2 separate regions of the Homo sapiens genome follow, and region 1 is linked to region 2. The links are contacts of gene promoters, found by promoter capture Hi-C in blood cells and fetal thymus (Javierre and others, 2016). All regions are on one chromosome and are shown on one strand. Each heading gives the region's core, a stretch centred on a gene start or on the middle of the fragment in contact. The rest is flanking DNA. Distances are from core to core; before and after follow the strand shown.

Region 1 (5,197 bases), core at 352-2,851, 360 kb after region 2:
GGGAGGACTGCTTGAGCACAGGAATTTGAGGCTGCAGTGAGCTAAGATGGCACCACTGCACTCTAACCTGGGCGACAGGGCTAAAAAAAAAAAAAAATTATATGTACACACACACACACACATACACGCAACTGCAATGACATATCTTTTTTTTTCTTTTTTTTTTTTTAAGACGGAGTCTCACTCTATTGCCCAGGCTGGAGTGCAGTGGCACGATCTCGGCTCACTGCAAGCTCTGCCTCCCGGGTTCATGCCATTCTCCTGCTTCAGCCTCCCGAGTAGCTGGGAGTACAGGTGCCCGCCACCATGCCCGGCTAATTTTCTGTATTTTTAGTAGAGACGGGGTTTCGCCGTGTTAGCCAGGATGGTCTGCGATCTCCTGACCTCGTGATCCGCCGGCCTTGGCCTCCCAAAGTGCTGGGATTGCAGGCGTGAGCCACCGCGCCTGGCCCAATTGTTATTTATTGAACAGAGTTTGAAGAAACTGAAAGTCTCCATTTCGGTGGCCAAAACCGCAATTACTTTTGCACCAACCTAATACTTTAAAACAAACAACAACAAAAACACAGTTGTTATTCAAACATAAATTCAACTGGCGCTCACTTTTGTCTTCACTTAAGTTAATCAGATGTTCATGTTACTATGAAGTTGACCAGTTAATTTGTAATGAATAATTAGTTAATTTGTAATGAATAATATTTCACTGAGTAGTCAAGCCCTCTTTCCACTAAACCAAGCTGCTTCTCACTGTACTAAACCCCGGGCTCTCTCTAAACTTTCAGGTGTTCCACTCCTTGTCACCTTCCCCTAGATCCTGAGTGGGGTTCACTCTTAGCTCCCTCGGGGGCCACTTCTCAACACTTACAGAGCTCCTATTGACCTGGCACGGTGGCTCACGCCTGTAATCCCAGCACTTTGGCAGGCCGAGGTGTGGGGATCACCTGAGGTCGGGAGTTCGAGACCAGCCTGACCAGCAAGGAGAAACCCTGTCTCTACTAAAAATACAAAAAATTAGCCAGGTGTGGTGGCGCATGCCTGTAATCCCAGCTACTCGGGAGGCTGAGATAGGAGAATTGCTTGAACCTGGCAGGCGGAGGTTGGGTGAGCCGAGATCGTGCCATTGCACTCTAGCCTGGGCAACAAGAGCGAAACTGTCTCCAAAAAAAAGAAAGAAAAGAAAAAAAGAAGACTTCCTATCTCCACCTGGGTCCCCAAGAGGTAAGAGGTATCTCCTTTTCTCCTGAGCCTAGGTCACCTCGGGGTCCCCCGAAGTTCCCCAGAAGGGGCTGCACAAGTCAGGACAAGAAGTCCAGGAAATGGGGGGTCGCCGATGACCACGCCCCGGGGCTCTGTTTGGGAACCCCCAAAATTTACTGAGGTGGAAAGATTGCGGGGTCATTGTGGGGTCAGGCTGAGGGGGCCGGGCCCAGCCCTATTCACGTGACCCGGTCCCAGGGAGAGGAGTTTGTTCACCCACCAGAGGGAACGCCCGACGCGAAGGCAGTGTGGCACCCTCCCTTCCCGGGGAGTCCTGGGCGTTGCTCTCCCACCCCGGCCGTGACGCAATCTCTCCGCGCCGGGGGCGGGACGAGCTTGACGCCATCTCCGGGCGCCCGGCTGTGGGGGGCGCTGGGTGTGGGGCGGCTCCGGGGCCGGGGATGGCGGCGGCCGCGGTTGCGGCGGCTCCGGGACGAGTGAGTGGATCCTGGGAAGCGCTGTGAAATGGGCTGGTGAGTGTCCCTGGAAGTGGTGGCCGCCGGGGCCAGGCAGGCCTGGGGTCGGTGCTCCGGAGGAAGTGGCCCTCAGGAGCCCGTTGCTCCGGCGGGCCGGGGCCCATGAACCGTGGACAGACGGAGGGGAGAGGCCGCACCTAGACCCCCTCGCGCTTCTCTCTGGCCTGTCCTGGAAGGTGGCCTCAGGCCCCGGCGCCCCGGAGGCTGTGTGCCTGCGAGCCAAGGTGTCCGAGTCTGTGGGGCGGGAAGGGCCCCCAAACAAGGAAGCGTCGCCTGCAGGGCCTCGCCCCTGCCCCCTTGGTGAAGGGTGGACCCCCTACTCTCTAAACGCAGAATTCCCAATTTCGAGCCCTACCCTTGTTGGATCAAGGATTGCGGGACCACTGGGAGCCATAACCGTAGTCTCTGACAAGCTTCTCCCTTTCTGTCGGGCGCACCTCTCGCCCGCAGAGAATTTGGGTCTCCAGCTGGGTTCAGCCCCTTGATTCCGACCCAAGCGTGATGAGGAGCTTGGTTCCGGGCTCTGCTAGCAGCGTTGGCAACTCTCCTGAACAGCCTGTTAGCTCGGTTGGGGTCACAAGCTGCGTTTTCCCTTTGAGATGCTCAGTGAGGTTCTCGAGAGGCGGAGGTTTCGGATTCTTAAGTGTGTTTTGCGTTGTGGGAACCTGGCGCACAGGCTTGGCTCTTTGTTTTCCTTTCTGCAGACCTTTTGCCTCTTTCGGTCCCTTTACTAGCCTGTGTTTGCTAACTTCTCGGTGACCTGGAGGCAGGTTTTCTTTAAAGTTTTCGTTACAGAAAGCAAGGATCATTTTGGGATTGAAGTGTGACCCCAGTTTCTGTTGGGAATGAAGAAGAAAGCAAGCTGCTTTTCAGTTATTAAAGCTGCTGGTGGAGAAAAGAGTCATTATTTATGCCACTGTGTAATAATATGTGTTTGTGGAATTAGGAATTTGTTTTCCCACTGTGTTTTCCTATCCTTCCACCTTTTGTGTACACCTGCACCTTGCCAATCTTAAGAGAGAAATGTTGCATTCGGTTTGGGTTGAGGCTTAGAGTGTTCTATAGGACTTGGACAGGATAGTCAGTTTCTCAGAGCACTCACTCATCTGTACTGCCTTCTCTGTTTTCAGAGGTTAAGGCTCCATTCTTTCTCGCTTTGCGTTTCTGGCAAGTGTAGATTCACATAGTGATGGTTTAGTGGTAGTTTTGTTTCACCAGTGTTAGCCAGCTGAGGACCAAGGCAATATTTTCAGTTTCTTTCATACCTGATTCAGCACTTGGTATACTGTCACTCAGAAAATTTTACATACACACACACATATGCTCATTTTTTTTTAACCCTGAAAATCTCTTAATAAGTCTTCTCCTTGAGTGACTCCCCCCTGACCTCTTTTTCTGCCCCAGAAACATAAATAATTGTTCTTTTTCATCTACTGCTGCTTTTTTTCATTTAAATAACTCCACATTTATGTTTTCATAGGCCCAGAATAAAGGGGAAATCCATAGAGTTGATTTTTCCTGCTTCCCATTGTTCATATGGGAACAGTGTTAAAGCTTCCATTTTTATTTGTGCGTTTATCTGAAATTTGGATTGGAGCAAATTTAACCTTTGGGGAACAGGCACAGGTAGATGTTAGGGAAATGATGTTACGGAAAACCAATGAAATTTGATACATGGAAATTTTTTTTCAGGGATGTCTTCTTACAAGTTGGAGCATTAGAGGTGTTTTTCTCTCTGTTCAACTGCCTGGGCACTCTGGGTAAATGTACTGTTTACCTGTGGAGAAGAAGATGAGGCAAGGACGTGTATACTCTAATGCTTTGGAATTACCTTTCATGGTGACCCTGGGGAGAATTAGAGGTCAGGCAGCCGCTTACTCCATTCCTGTTTCTATCTTCTAGGCTCCCGAGCCAGCCGGGAGGACACTTACTACAGCTGCTCAGAAGCACCACTGGAAACTCAGGTAATACCGGCACTTTGAATTCCTTGTTTCAGGAAAATATCTGGGATGTCACAGTGGAAAAACAGAACAGAATGTAATATAGAAAGCTCTTTTCAGATCCAAAGAACTGGAACCTGGTTGGAAGAAATAGGCAGCAAAGTTCATGTGCACTGAAGTGTTCAGACCAAAAAGTTGCTTTATAACAATGGACAAAAGCATTTGTGAAAGGTGACAATAAGAGAAAAGGGAAAGAGAACTTTCTTATGAATCATACAGATACGGGGAAAAAAACAGGCATGTTTAGAGGAATGGAACCAGAATTTCATGGAGTGGTGCCTGGAGCAGACCTACAGTGGAGAAGGAGCTATTGGTAAAAGAAAGCACAAAGAAAAAAGAAAGGGAATGAATAGAGAAGGCAAATTGAAGGTGATCATTGAGAAGAAGCCTTTTGAGACTAGGGAACCGGAAGTGTACGTAAGGTCAGAAGAATTTAGAATTTTGTTGTTCTTTGGTGAAGAGGAGAAACAAGTTGACAGCAAACTAGTTTAATCACTTTCACTATATAGAGGCTGAGTTAAAATGTATTATTTCATGGGTCAAAGATGTTAATTTTCATAACCTGGTTAGGGAGCAAAGTCTTAAAAAAAAAAACAAAACACGAGCAGACCTGAGGGTTTTGGCACCTAGGTCCTTGAGGTACTGATGAGATGAGGCAAAGGAGGAAGAGAGTTTTTAGCCAGGCTTGGGATAGCAGTAGGTGAGATCATAACCCAAATTAGGCTACAGAAAGGAAGCAAGGATGAGGTCATATGTTCAGGAAAGAAGGTGGCACATTCATGTTTGGTAGCAAAAGGAGAAACTTAAGAAAAAGAGCCAGCAGGAGGCTGGGCGCTGTGGCTCACACCCGTAATCCCAGCACTTTGGGAGGCTGAGGTGGGCGGATCACCCAAGGGCAGGCGTTCGAGACTAGCCTGGCCAACATGGTGAAACCCCATCTCTACTAAAAATACAAAGTTAGCCAGGCGTGGTGGTGCATGCCTGTAGTCCCAGCTGCTTGGGAGGCTGAGGCAGGAGAATTGCTTGAACCCGGGAGGCGAGGTTGCGGTGAGCTGAGATTGCACCATGTACTGTGGCCAGGGCAACAAGAGCAAAACTCCATGTGTTTTAAAAAAAAAAAAAAAAAAAAAAAAAAGCAAAAGAGCCAGCAGGAAAGACCATGTGTTCAAAGCCCCCTTTGGGAAGAAGGCAGAAAAGAGACAAGGTGCTTATGAGACACATGACTAACCGTGAAGCTGTTGGTCTCCCTGGGCTTGTGGAGCCCACAGGTTATTTGTGCATTGGTGAATGCGTGTCCCTGTAGCTCTTTGTGCCTTGTGATTTCCCCGACTGTTTCTCTCATGTCCCAGGCTGGATGAGTTGGGGGTAGCCTCCTTGTCTGCCCCTTTCTCTTTCCTCCTTATTTTCTAACAGTCCCCTTTGTTACATCTTCCTCCATGGCACAGTTCTTTCTATTTCCTTTGT
Region 2 (5,419 bases), core at 11-2,510:
GGAAGTGCGTCACTACTTTGGCCTTGCACCCAGGCTCACACGCGTACTCTCTAGGATGCCGGAGCGGTCTTCTCAGTGGTTGTGTGGTTTTACTCCCGGGAGGAGTTTCCACCCGGGGATCCTCAGAGACCTTGAATAGGAAAGAAAGTATATCATTGTTTTCGCTAATCTCTAACCGAAATTTAGCATTTTCTTCTATGTTGGCAACAAACTACTGTAGTATCAGCCGTATCTGTGACTGTCACCGATAGAAATCACAGATATTTTCATATCACATTACAGTTGATGCAGATCTCAGAATATGGCTATTCTCGTCACTAATTTGAAATTGTCCTTGTTGTTATCGGGCCCACCTCAAGTCTTGTCATTACATTTCATCACGTTGGTAAAGCTGCACTTATATTTCTGTATCACAAATTCTAAAAAACTGTTTAATTGTATGTTCATTGGTTTTGAAGGTGTCACCAGACTGCCAAAGGGTCTTTGCACAAAAAAGCTGTCCTCCTTAGAGGTAAAGACCCAGACACGTTAAGAAAGACCAGGTCAGCAGGCCAGGCGCGGTGGCTCACGCCTGTAATCCCAGCACTTTCGGAGGCCAAGGCGGGCAGATCACCTGAGGTCAGGAGTTCGAGACCAGCCTGGTCAACGTGGTGAAACCTCGTCTCTACTAAAAATACAAAAATTAGCCAGGCGTAATGGCGGGCACCTGTAATCCCAGCTACTCGGGAGGCTGAGGCAGGAGAATTGCTTGAACCCGAGAGGTGGAGGTTGCAGTGAGCCGAGATTGTGCCATTGCACTCCAGCCTGGGCGACAAAAGCAAAACTCCATCTCAAAAAAAAAAAAAACCAAAAAAACAAAAAAAAACAAAAAGAAAGAAAGACCAGGTCTAAGGAGGGATATATTAAGTAACTATTTAGGAAGTGAAAACGGTGGACATTTTTTTTTTTAATGACTGAATACAAGGCAGCCAGAGCAATCTATAATAGCCATGAATTTTGGATGACCTGATAGATGAAGGTGCCATTAGCTGAGATCAGGAATTGAAGAAGAGGAGCTGGTTTCAGGCAAGAAGGTGAAAGAATTTAGTTTCAAAAATACTGAACACACACACACACACCTGCCTTATTAACATTTAATTCACACACCATACAATTCATCAATGCAGAGTATAAAATTAAATAGGTTTTAGTGTGTTCAGAGACTTGCGCAAACATCACCACAATCAGTTTCAGGACATTTTCATCTCCCCAAAGGAACCTCATAACCATCAGCAGTCACTCTCCATTTTCCCTCTGGTAAGCAGAATGGTGTTTTGTTCCCCTCAAAGATGTATATGTCCTAATCTCTAGAACCTGTGAGTACATTAAGTTACATGACAAAGGGAAATTGAGGTTGCAGGTGGAATTAAGATTGCTAGTCAGCCAACTTTAAGATTATCTTGGGGCTAGGCACAGTGGCTCACATCTGTAATCCCAGCACTGTGGGAGGCCCAGGTGGGCAGATCACTTGAGCCTGGGAGTTCAAACCAGCCTGGGCAACATGACAAAACCCTGTCTCTACCGAAAAAAAAAAAAAAAAAATTCCAAAAAGGAACAAAAATTGGCCAGGTGTGGGCACACGCCTGTAGTCCCAGCTACTAGCTGAGTTGGGAGGATCACTTGAGCCTGGGAGGTCAAGGCTGCAGTGAGCCTTGATTGAGCCACTGCACTCCAGCCTGGGCAACAAAGCGAGACCCTGTCAAAAAAAAAAAGATGATTATCTTGGATTATTCAGGTGGGCCCAGTGTAATCATAAGAGTTCTTGAACGTGAAAGAGGGAATTGAAAGAGAATCACAAAAATGACAGCACAAGAAGGACTTGGCCCAACCTCACTGGCTTTGAAGATGGAGGAAGGGGCCAAGGGTCAAGGAAAGTGGGTGGCCTCCAGAAGATGAAAAAGGCAAGGAAACAGATTCTCTCCTTAGTCTAAATCCTGAATTTATACCAGTGGGACCCATTTTGGATTTCTGACCTCCAAAACTCTAAGATAAATTAGTGTTGTTTTACGCCACTACTCATGGCAATTTGTTACAGCAGCAATAGAAAATTAATAGACACACATGTACATACCTCTCTTCTTCCCCCAATTCTAGACAACCACTTTCTTTATAGATTTGCCTATTCTGGATATTTACATTACATAAATGACCATTAAGTCTGGATATAAAACAAAAACAAGTCTCTATTGTTAATTTTATCGGTTTTTAGAAACATGGGAACCCGTATGTTTACTTGGTGAAGAGTTGAGTATATTCTTGGCCAGAAGATGGGAACACTAAAATTAAAAACAAAAAGAGTTGGGAATAACTTATTTTTGTTTTGCAGGGAGTGGAAAGGAAGAAAATTTCCACTCTCATTTGTCTGGAAAGTCTCCCAGAGAGTTTTCAAGATCATTAATAATAATAGCTAATTCACACTGACCTGTCTTCCCAGCCAATGTATCACCTCTAAGGAAATGTATACTTGATATGTTTTGGCTCTGTGTCCCCAGGCAAATCTCATGTTGAATTATGATCTTCAGTGTTGGGGGAGGAACATGGTGGAAGGTGATTGGATCATGGGGGCGGATTTCCCCCTTGCTGTTCTCGTGATAGTGAGTTCTCATGTGATCTGGTTGTTTCGAAGTGTGTTGCGCTTCCTCCTTTGCTGTCTCTCTCCTGCTGGCCATGTGAAGATTGTGCCTGCTTCCCCTTTGCTTTCCACCATGATTGTAAGTATCCTGAGGCCTCCCCAGCCATGCCTCCTGTACAGCCTGTGGAACTGTTAGCCAATTAAACCTCTTTTCTCCATAAATTACCCAGTCTCAGGTATATCTGTATAGCACTGTGACAACGGACTAATACAATACTCATACTCATGTCTGTCACAATCTCTACCATCAAACATAATTACTTTCAAGCTTTGACCATTCCTTAGATTCCAATGGGAACCACCTTTCTTTCTGGTCACCTCACAGCCTAACTATCCAGCTCTCCCTCTAACTCCTACAGTATCTTTAACTGAAGCTATAAGTAATATCAGATCATGATACCCAGAGTATGGTGTATGATCATGGCATATTTACTGTTACTTAATCCTGACTTGAAAATACTAACTTCTCTCCCATATGTCTGAAAATCCCAGCCACAAATAGGCTGAGGCTGTGGTGGAACTTAAGTTTCATGCACAAAGTCATTTTTGCCTTGGCTGCAAAAAAATATGTAGTTAAGCTAAATATTGTGCTGCAGTATCTATACTGACATATAATTCAATATTATTCTCTCCTTGCAGCTGCAAACATACTTAATGATGAAAGACAGAATGTCTTTCCCTCCAAGATTGGGAACATGGCAGGTATGTCTGCTCTTACCACTACTATTTAACATCATATTGGGAGTCTTAGCAAGAGCAAGGCCAGAAAAAGAAATAAAAGGCACATAGGTCAGACACAGTGGCTCACACCTGTAATCCCAGCACTTTGGGAGGCCAAGGTGGATGGATTGCTTGAGGCCAGGAGTTCAAGACCAGCCTGGCCAACATGGAGAAATCGCATCTCTACTAAAAATATAAAAATGAGCCAGGTGTGGTGGTGTGTGCCTGTAATCCCAGCTACTCAGGAGGCTGAGACATGAGAATTGCTTGAACCCGGGAGGTGGAGGATGCAGTAAGCTGAGAATATGCCACTGCACTCCAGCCTGGGTGACAGAACGAGACTATCTCAAAAAAAAAAAAAAAAGAAAAAGAAAAAGAAATGAAATGAAAGACACACAGATTCGAAACTCAGAACAAAACTGTTACTATCTGCAGGCAACATGATTATCTGTATAAGAAGTCCCAAAGAATCTACAAAACAAGCTCCTAAAATTAAAAGTGAGTTCAGACTGGTCACAGTGGCTCACGCCTGTAATCCCAGCACTTTGGGAGGCCGAGACAGGCGGATCGCCTGAGGTCAGGAGTTTGAGACCCGTCTGACCAACATGGTGAAACCCCGTCTCTACTAAAAATACAAAAATTAGCCGGGTGTGGTGGCAGGCACCTGTAATCCCAGCTACTCGGGAGGCTGAGGCAGGAGAATCACTTGAACTCGGGAGGCGGAGGTTGCAGTGAGTAGAGATGGTGCCATTGCACTCCAGCCTGGGTGACAAGAGCGAGACTTCGTCTCAAAAAAACCAAAACAAACTAACAAAAACATAAAAACACTATGGGACAATGGCATTTGTTTGGACACAGGTCTCCAAATCTGCCTCTTCAAAAGAAACAGACACTGCAACTGCAAGAGCCTTGGTTAAAGACTTAAGCCGGCCCCAACTAAGAGTGGGGATGGCTTCCCTAGGAGGTAGGAATCAGCTGGAGTCCTTGCCTCTCCTGGTGCCCAGGCAGTGCCATCTGCAGACACTTCTGTCATCCTCCCATCCTTGGGGGGCTCTTTCTCCAGCTCCAGTTCGTGAGCGGCAAAGCTTGCAGCTGTACAGCCTCCAAGAGCAAACAGCCCAGGTCCCACCCGGCCACAATTGTATAGTGACGCCCTCCCCGTCCCCTTCTTTGAGCTGCGCTCAAAGGACCAGCCTGGACTGCTATGCTGTCTCACTCCCAACCCAAGCTCCGCCCAACTGTGGGTCCTTGCACTTTGGCACCTTTGAGCGCGGACTCAAAACAGGCCAGAAGCGCACCGCTAGCGAGAACGGTTAGGAGGCCGGAAGTGCGTCACGCTTGTGGGGCGCTTGGAGGCCAGAAGTGCGTCATGAGCACGGCTGCTCTTTCTACGGTGCAACTTTTCCGCATCTCGGTGTTTCCGATTGGGAGACATCCTCTTCCTTTCCTTGTACACACTTTTTTCTCTCCTCAGGAACCTCACGCCTGGGTCATTGTCCATTTGGGTGGGTCAAGAAAGCGATCGCTTCTGCCCGGGAGCAGTTGATTGTCAGGAAGGAATTCGTGATAAAACCGCCATCACCACAGGCCTAGATGGTGGCCGGTGTTTCCTGGTTGCTTACTGGTCTTTCTGAGTTCTGGTTCACTCGCAGTGAATCAACTTCCTTTCACAAGCTCTGCCACTCACGGGCCATTGAGGAAGACCCTTGTGTCTCTGAGCAGCTTTTGTCTTCTGTAAAATGAGCCAGTCAGATTATACCATTCAAGCTGTCTTTAATTCCATGCACTGTAACCTCCAATGGTTTGCCACTACCCCTGGAGTCCAAGTCACCATTCAAGGCTCCTCAGACCCTTGCCCTCCTTCCCCTCTAAATGATAAAGAAAATGCCAAAAGCGCAGGGCATATGGGCTAAGAGAGATAGCTCTAAAGTGTTAGTGCCTGTGGCTTTCTGGGTCCACAAAAGAGAACTCTGGCCAGGATTTTGCTGGACTGTCAAAACGTTTGTGATCACTGTCACAGAATTACAA

What was found. Contacts are between HindIII fragments. The CHiCAGO score rates a contact against its expected background, and 5 or more counts as called.
Region 1: a contact is called between the fragment with the promoter of ATXN1L here and a fragment that was not itself captured in region 2, in 1 of 17 cell types (non-activated CD4 T cells). The highest score is 5.5, in non-activated CD4 T cells.

The regions. Positions count from the first base shown.
Region 1 is chr16:71,844,375-71,849,571 of GRCh38, forward strand. ATXN1L (ataxin 1 like) reads left to right here and starts at 1,602. Exons shown (of 3, transcript NM_001137675.4): 1 at 1,602-1,730; 2 at 3,636-3,697. RefSeq lists enhancers at 674-1,446, 1,180-1,229, 1,447-2,218, 2,020-2,089 and a silencer at 1,490-1,799. The HindIII fragment of the contact is 5,556 bases long and covers 1-2,144 here.
Region 2 is chr16:71,484,619-71,490,037 of GRCh38, forward strand. ZNF19 (zinc finger protein 19) reads right to left here and starts at 4,706. Exons shown (of 6, transcript NM_006961.4): 1 at 4,654-4,706; 2 at 1-130. RefSeq lists an enhancer at 1-159 and a silencer at 1-6. The HindIII fragment of the contact is 3,354 bases long and covers 1-2,937 here.